Linked DNA regions of Homo sapiens: region 1 is linked to region 2. Evidence: promoter capture Hi-C in human tissues and cell types (Jung and others, 2019). All regions are on one chromosome and are shown on one strand. The core of a region is centred on a gene start or on the middle of the fragment in contact, and the rest is flanking DNA. Distances in the headings are between cores, read along the strand shown.

The links. The method cuts DNA at HindIII sites, captures the fragments that hold promoters and counts their contacts. A contact is called where the count stands out against the background at its distance.
Region 1: a fragment that was not itself captured here is called in contact with the fragment with the promoter of ZBED2 in region 2 in 3 of the 25 tissues and cell types used here (IMR-90 fibroblasts, bladder and mesenchymal stem cells).

What each region holds. Positions count from the first base shown.
Region 1 is chr3:111,714,514-111,718,680 of GRCh38, reverse strand. The region is part of intron 3 of PLCXD2 (phosphatidylinositol specific phospholipase C X domain containing 2); the gene reads right to left. Among named protein-coding and RNA genes, the nearest start is that of PLCXD2-AS1, 39 kb to the right of the region's middle. The HindIII fragment of the contact is 4,188 bases long and covers 807-4,167 here.
Region 2 is chr3:111,592,801-111,597,215 of GRCh38, reverse strand. ZBED2 (zinc finger BED-type containing 2) reads left to right here and starts at 1,870. Exons shown (of 2, transcript NM_024508.5): 1 at 1,870-1,916; 2 at 2,150-4,316. The coding sequence starts at 3,015. The coding sequence ends at 3,671. The region is part of intron 5 of CD96 (CD96 molecule); the gene reads right to left. The HindIII fragment of the contact is 9,781 bases long and covers 1-3,572 here.

The DNA.
Region 1 (4,167 bases), core at 1,651-4,150, 120 kb before region 2:
ACAACCCTGTTCAGGCCTTGGTAGCATTTTGTCCTTCTCCTCTTTCTTTTTCTCTTACCATAACTATAATCAGTCCTGGGTCTCCTCCCTCTCTCAGTGGACTCTACAATCAGCCACGGGCTAAAACACATATCATAAATCAATCAATCTATCTATCTATCTATCTATCTATCTATCTATCTATCTATCATCTATCCATCATCTTATTTTTTTTTTGAGACGGAGTCTTCCTCTGTCCCCCAGGCTGGAGTGCAGAGGCGCGATCTTGGCTCACTGCAAGCTCCGTCTCCCGGGTTCACGCCATTCTCCTGCCTCAGCCTCCCGAGTAGCTGGGACTACAGGCGCCCGCCACCACGCCCAGCTAATTTCTTTGTATTTTCAGTAGAGACGGGGTTTCACCGTGTTAGCCAGGATGGTCTCGATCTCCTGACCTGGTGATCCGCCCACCTCGGCCTCCCAAAGTACTGGGATTACAGGCGTGAGCCACTGCGCCTGGCCTATATTTTTATATTAATAGCTGATTATGACTTAAAAGATCACCCTCCCAGGGGTACTTCCATTTTGAACGGGGACTCCTGAAGAGTGATAATAATAATGCTTCATACAGATTTTTGGGGAATTAAACAAAATAATACATGTAAAGTGTTTAGAAGAGTTTCTGTGATATGATAAGTGTGGTAAAAAAAAAAAGGTAAGGAATCATAACTGGAAGAGTGTGAGGTAGAAATATTTGGTGGCTGGGAGTAAGAAACTACACCTTAAAGAGGTCACATCCTCCTGCTTACGTGACAACATGTTGTGGTTTGGAAGTGAGAAGCTGCAAATACAGACTTCCTTAAAGATAGACCAAGGATACACAAGGAACCACACCAAGGACACAGTAGTACTGAACCTGATAGATTCAAGACTTCATTTTAAAAGCCTGAGTCAGTGTTGAAGTATGAGGTGCAGGCGCCCTCTGCTGGTCATTACAGGGAAATGAGCCTTAAAGGCTTGTAACTCCAGTCACTGCAGCCAGAGCCTCCTCACCTTGGAGGATCCCTGGAGCCTGAGCAGAGAAATGCAGTGAAAGGTATGTACCTGTGGTTTCCAGTGACAAAGAGTTCTGTGTCAGCTTCGGGTAGCATGTGTCAACCTTCTCCAAGGCAAGGATCAAATAATTAGGATTAAGTACGAAGAAGGGGAAATGCAGAACCCACAGTGAAGAGGAGCTACTTTATTTTCTCAGCTCTTGGTATTTACCAGGACAAGGGATCTGTGCAAAAGGCTGAACCTGACAGTGCTGACAGGCCCGTGAGGCAACAGTTCCCATGGATGGCAGAGCAGGAGGTTAAAAACTTCCCTTTGACCTTGGGGCCCAGCTGGGAACAAGGGTGGTCCATAGTGTTTCTGGGTGTCTTTACAAATAGGGATGGCATGTCTATTTTCTGCCAGCCACTGTGGCTGGCATTTTCATGTTAAGGCTACAATCTGATGAGGTTTATTAATCCTGTTTAACTGGTGAGAAAACCACAGCTCAGAGACCTCAGAAAACTTGTCCACGGCCACCCTGTTGCTCAGGGACTGCATTGATTTGCTAGGGCTACCATAGCAAAACACCACATACTGGTTGGCTTAAATGACAGAAATGTATTTTCTCTTGTTTTAGAAGTTGGACATCCAAGATCAAAGTGTCATCAGATTTCATGTCTCCTGAGGCCTCTGTCCTTGGCTTGCAGACAGCCGCCTTCTTATTGCATTCTCACATGGCCTTTCCTCTGTGAACACATATCTGTGGTGTCTCTTTGTGTGTCTAAATTTCCTTTTCTTTTAAGGATACCAGCTAGACTGGATTAGGGCCCACCCTAATATCCTCGTTTTGACTTAATTACCTCTTTAAAGGCCGTATCTGCAAATGTACCCACATTCTGAGGTAACTGAGAGTTGGGACTTCAATATGTGAGCTTGGGGATGGCGGGGATGGGACGGGGCACAACACAATGCACCCTGGAACAGGGAGCATGTCAGGCTGCACTCTCAGGCCTTCTGATTTCAGTCCATGTTCCCTTATAGAGTTCATGGATGCTCTGTCCTCAAGCTTAGGCAAAGCATTTTCATATGATTTCAGTGAGAGTGCCATGAACCTGAATTTCAGGTTTCTATAAGTCTGGGAGAAACCACCATGGAAATTGAGTCAAATGGCTATATTTCTTGTGGCTTCCTTCTACGGTGTTGAACCAAAATGAACAAGATCTTAGCTCCAAAGTTTATCGAAGAGTTAGGGGGTTAAATCCCTGCCGAGAAACCACCTCTACATTTGTAAGAAAATATACCCTGTCTTTTTTTTCTTGGTTTGAGCTGACCACCAGTGCCAGCGACCAGTTGTTAGGACAGACCCTCTGGGTGTTGGCACACAGGGGAAGGTCCTATGTTTGTTCAACAGCCCAGAGGAAATGACAGCCACACTCTGCACTGGCCTTTTGGAACAAACTCAACCAGAGCTATATTTTCCTCCTTCAGTTGATGTGCAGGACTAGGAATGCATGCATACTTGCAATATTCTTATGGCCGGCAGGGGGGCGAGATGCCAAAGAAAGTATCTTTCCAAGCTTGGGGACATTGGCTTGCTGCTAGCAGTAGTGCAAGGGCTCTGGCATAGTAGGATCCCTTGGCTTTGGGCGCATGCCAACATCATTATCTCTCATCATAAAGGAAAGAGCCAATGTTTCACTTGCAGCCAGATTAAAGTTTTAGGAATGTACAGATATGAAAAGCTTTGTGACATTGTGGGTTACTAGTTATAACCTGTGAGATATTACCAGATTCAGGTACTAATAAGACAACTGCAGGCCTGTGGAACAGAAAAGAATAAGCACAAAAATATGCAGTATCCAAGTCAGTGTCCAACGCTGAAAAGGGCAGTGGTCTAACGATCAGAAGGCCAGAGTCTGAGAGGTATTCTTGACTTTTACTAGCTGTATGGATTGGGGTCACTTAAGCTCCCTGAATCCCATCTAAAGAGGGGATGATAATATGCTGTAGACAATGTGCCATCCTAGAGGCTGACTTGATTTAAGAATCAAATGAAATCATCTGCAAAAAGCCATTTGATATTCAGAATATGGTATACAGATATAACTTATCCTTAGTTTTTTAAATACTCCCTCTCCATTATTAGTATGGCTGTCTGCACAGACTTCTTCACAGTGGTATTTCACATTGCTTTATAGAAATTTTCATGCCAGTTTCTGCTGCTAGACTGTGAGTTCCTTGACAGCAGACAGTATAATATTCACCTTGAATCTTTGTACCTAGCTCTTCCTAGGTGCTCAATGTTTGTTGAATGAATATATAAATAATGTTGATCTACAAATATACCAGAGGCATGAGGAAAACAGTGTGGATACACAAACATATTATTAAAACAATAAAGCTTCTAATTCGGGATCTTTCAAAGAGATATAGTGCTGGTTTATAAAATTCACTTTTCCAAGTTCAGCATAATGAATTCAGTCAAGACTTAGTAGAGCCACACAGAAAACACTTTCTGGTTTTGTCCATGGTTGACATAATCAGGAGCTCTCACCAAGAAAGAAAAATCTAGTCCTGCTGTCTAAACTCCTGCTAGGTGAACTCCTGTTATCTGAACTCATGTTACCTAAACTCAGGACCAAATAAATAGAAACATGTTTTTGGATGAATCTTTCATTATCTGAACTCTGCTCGTCAACCTGAAACTCAGGGACCAAACTGATTCTTGTAAATATCTTTTGCTACCCAAACGTATTAGCTTCCTTAGCTTGGATTGCAAGGGATTCCCTGTTATCCAAATGTATTTATAACATTCCTTTTATACATATACATATACACATACACATGTACAGGTACATAGACACATACATACACACACTCACATATATGTGCGCGCACACACACAAACACGCATACAAATAAACCATCCTTTTTCTTGAGAACATCTATCATTCATTGGTGTCCGGGATAAGGAACACCATCTGATACAAAATTACTGAAGCTTCTGCTATCTAATTGTACAACCAGGCTCAATTCTGCCCTGAGGAAGTATTTGAAGCTACAGCATGGGCATGGTGGGTGGCATCCTAAGCTGCTTCTTCAGTGACTCATGGTCACCATGGAAAGGAGAACAAATTCTTGAAGGGCCAGCTCTGA
Region 2 (4,415 bases), core at 621-3,120:
TTGTTTTCTCATCAAGAGATGTATATATTTTACATATGACCAGCCCTAGTTCTTAGTTCTCAGATATTTTCCACAATTAATGAATATACTAGTTAACATGTAAAGAACAATTAAATGTATGTGATGATTTGTGTGCCAATCCTCAGACTAGTTACTCCCAAGAAGTCTGGGCCTATAGAGCTGAGAAACCAAATTCGAGAATGCTAACTAACATTTTCCTGGTGAAATCCTACAGAAGTTTACTATTTCTCAGTACATTGCTACAGAAATCCCAATGAAACAAGAGAATTTCAGAGGGGGTTGTCTAGCATATCCAAGATGCTGGGTGGCAAACACCGTAGCTCCCAGTATTCCCATCCGTTCAACACTTGCCTTTCCAGATAATGGGGATACATATATGGGCCAGGGATGCTAGTCTCTCCACTAAAAAATTAAAAGCAAAACCAGATCCTCTAAAATACATTCTTATTAAGTAAAGGAGAGTGTTCAGTTTAATTCAATAGATGCCAAAGATTGATTTTTATCTCCAGTTGGTCCAGGAAGAGACAAAAAGGTAAAGGAGGTAAAATGTTTTTTTAAAAAAAGAAAAAGATACAAAGTTTTGCATTAATCCAGTGACATTAACCATTCTTATGATTCATTTCCTTTCTCTTTAGTTAACCCACCAAAGATGACGATATGGTAATATCAGGAGTAAGTGGGGGTGTTATTATTTTACGAAGGCAACTGGCTCACTGAAGAACTCTGGTTAACGTCTAAAAATTTTGAAAAGATTTGACTTTCATGAATTCTCTAGGTTCAGATTTTCTGAAATGATCCAAATTTCAAACATTCTAGACTCTCTCTAGACTTTGCGTTCCAAGATTTGGTTTAGAAATGTGGTTCATGTTCTAAAACTCCTCCCAGTCTCATTCCTATTTTGAATCTTTTTCCCCCATCTTTTTTTTCTATTTTAATTTAACTGTCAACCTCTACATATTTTCTGCTATGCCATTTCTTTTTCTTTTCTTTCTTTTTTTATTTTTATTTATTCATTTTATTTATTTATTTTTTTGAGACAGAGTCTCCCTCTGTCGCCCAGGCTGGAGTGCAGTGGCATGATCTTGGCTTACTGCAACCTCCACCTCCCGGGTTCAAGCAATTCTCTTGCTTCAGCCTCCCAAGTAGCTGGGATTACAGGCGTGCACCACCACACCTGGCTAATTTTTGCATTTTTAGTAGAGACAGGGTTTCACAATGTTGGCCAAGCTGGCCACGATCTCCTGACCTCAAGTGATCCACCTGCCTCGGCCTCCCAAAGTGCTGGGACTACAGGCAAGATCCATGGCTCCTGGCCTGCAATGCCATTTCTATCTTTCCTTTTATAACACAAAGTTTTTTCTTCTTCTATTGATACCTTCTTTAGAGTCTTCCTATCTCCTCTTGGTAGGTTTTCCTTCTCAATCTAAATATGTATACACACACATATATATATTATGCATATTATATATAATGTATGTATATATATAATATATATGTGTGTATACATTTAATATTTCAGCCTTTCCCACTCTTCCTCCTTCAAATCGCTTGCTTTACTTGAGAGGTTAGGTAATCTAGTCATCAAAAAAGAGAACTAAGACTTGTAGGTGCTTGACTTACTGTTTTGCTGCATGACATATGCCAGGAACATCCTTTTCTTGGTGGTGGAGGGGGTGGAGAAAAGGTTTGCATCTGTGTCTAAGTGTTGCAGAAAAACCCAACAGGCACAGACACACCTACCTGGAAACAATGCTTCCCTAGAAGTGGGAGGAAACCAGAACTGGAGGTGCCCTCCTTCTGGGGGTAGGAGTCAGCTAATAGACATCCAAGGTGTGCAGGAGTGCTTTCACTCTGCGCAGGAAAGATCAGAGAGAAGTCCAGAGCCTTGCCTGCTTGTAAGTACCCACTTGTGGCTGGGGGGAATTTCCTAACTGTTCACGGTTGCAGAGCTTGATTAAATAAAGCTCTCATTAGTTTAAGAAATGACCCAAGAAAGGAGAGAGAAGTCGGGCTGTTTTTAAATGTAATATGATTTTCCATTTACTTATTTATCTTTAAAATGAGGTAAAGAGCAAAACATCTGGAGTAAGTTGCCTCAGGAAGGTCTTATTGGCTGTTGGCTTTGCAGGTGATCCTGGTGGAGAAGGTGGAGTATGGTGAGCTGCTTGCTAAGGACAGCCAGGCAACGCTGTGTTTGTGAAGATGTGCTCCACCTTCTCCTCTGTGCATCCCAGCTCCTCCTGCTGAAACAGCTGAGCTTGCTTTTTGGATTTCTTAGACTCCTGGCCTCTGAGAGACACCTCTAAGGACAAACTGACCTTGCATTGGGAACTTTATTATCCAGATCCTCATAGGCTTTGTCTACTCTGGATTGCTTGTTGCAACAGTTCTTAGGAAGCAAGATTGTCTCCTGCACCAGCATCTGCCTGTGTTTGCTTTTACCTACTTTGAGCAAGACCCAGTGAGGCCCTAGCTCTGTTGGTCCTGAAAAGCCTGAACCCTGAGGCTGTTTCTCCTGCCTCCAAAATGCAATTATAGGAAATAAGAAGCACAGAAACAGTGGAAACAACCAGGAGGAGAAACAAGAAAACCTAAAATTTTCAATATTCAAAAATACCTGTCGTGGTGGTTGATGCAGAAAACACTGAGTTCATCAAAGAGCTTTGTAATTGTTGGACCAGAGAACCCCTTTGCTACAGGAACTGATATGTTTTGTCTTTCTGGCCTAGTCAAGGGAGGATAAGTAAGTATCTGGGGCATGGAAGGAATGCACTCTTGGGCTGTTTTGCTTGTATCTGACTCACCCCTGACTCTCCAGTGAAGCAGAAAGGAAGAAACCTCACACCACCCAGGTGTGGCCAGACTTTGGCCATTATTGTGAATCCCCAAGAGTTACCACAGGCCCTTCCCAAATATATATTTAATCTTGTGGTTCAAATAAGCTTTTGGCTCACATCTAAGCACATCATAAAGAACGCTGTAGAAGAGGTGACATGATGAGGCGGGAAGACGAGGAAGAGGAGGGAACAATGATGAAGGCAAAAGGGGACTTAGAGATGAAGGAGGAGGAAGAGATTAGTGAGACAGGAGAACTGGTTGGCCCTTTTGTGAGTGCTATGCCCACTCCAATGCCCCACAACAAGGGCACCCGGTTCTCTGAGGCATGGGAATATTTCCACCTAGCTCCTGCTCGTGCTGGGCACCATCCCAACCAGTATGCCACCTGCCGCCTGTGTGGCAGGCAGGTGAGCCGTGGCCCTGGGGTCAACGTGGGCACCACTGCACTGTGGAAGCATCTGAAAAGCATGCACAGAGAGGAGCTGGAGAAGAGTGGCCATGGTCAGGCTGGGCAGCGCCAGGATCCAAGGCCCCACGGGCCCCAGCTCCCCACAGGCATTGAGGGTAACTGGGGTAGGCTCCTGGAGCAGGTGGGCACCATGGCTTTGTGGGCCAGCCAAAGGGAAAAGGAGGTGCTTAGGAGGGAAAGGGCAGTGGAATGGCGGGAGAGGGCTGTGGAAAAAAGGGAGCGAGCCCTGGAGGAGGTGGAAAGGGCCATCCTGGAGATGAAGTGGAAGGTGAGGGCTGAGAAGGAGGCATGCCAGCGGGAGAAAGAGCTGCCTGCAGCAGTACATCCCTTCCATTTTGTTTAAATTGGGCTTGGAGAATCTATTCTGAAAACATTGACTCTAGACTTGTAGAAAAGAGCCATTTTAGTTTCAACTCAAATGTAAAGCAAAGTAGTTTGGTGACATTTTGCTTTTATGTGAAATAGTGCACAGTATGAGTTAATCTGAGCAGGTCTGAATTGACCAAATGCTTATCTACGAGGTTCCTAGAGCTCTGCTGACCCTTGGCCGAAACTCTAAAATGTACCTATTAAAGATAAATGCTTCTACCAAAGTAAAACTCTGTGAGTTGTTTCAGGGCAGAATGTACCAGCCAGTCAGCGTTGTTTAACAAAATAATCAGATTTTTGCCTAGCACTCGGTTTTGGTGGAGCTGACGATTTTGAGGGCTGAGGCTGGTTAGGTAGCTGGAATGTGCCTATGTGACCAGCTCACTTGCAGACACCCTGCCGGAAGCAGAGCTTAATCTTCCTAGGACTGAGGTCTTAGCACATGTACTGGTGGAGTTTCCAGACCACCAGTATGAATAAAAGCTTGTTCTGTGTGACCCAGCAAGTGGAAGGACAAAGAACTGTGAGCCTCAGATCTTTGGACCTTTCCAATGCGTCTCTTTCTCCTGTTATTGCTGCAATGTATTTTCTTGCTTATATTAAAGTTGTTTCATCAGTATAATCTGAGTCCGGTGTGTCTTTTTAACAACCTAATGCTTAAACTAATTAATGTGTAATTAGCACAGAGAAATGAAAAACCTCTCAACTTACTTAGTTT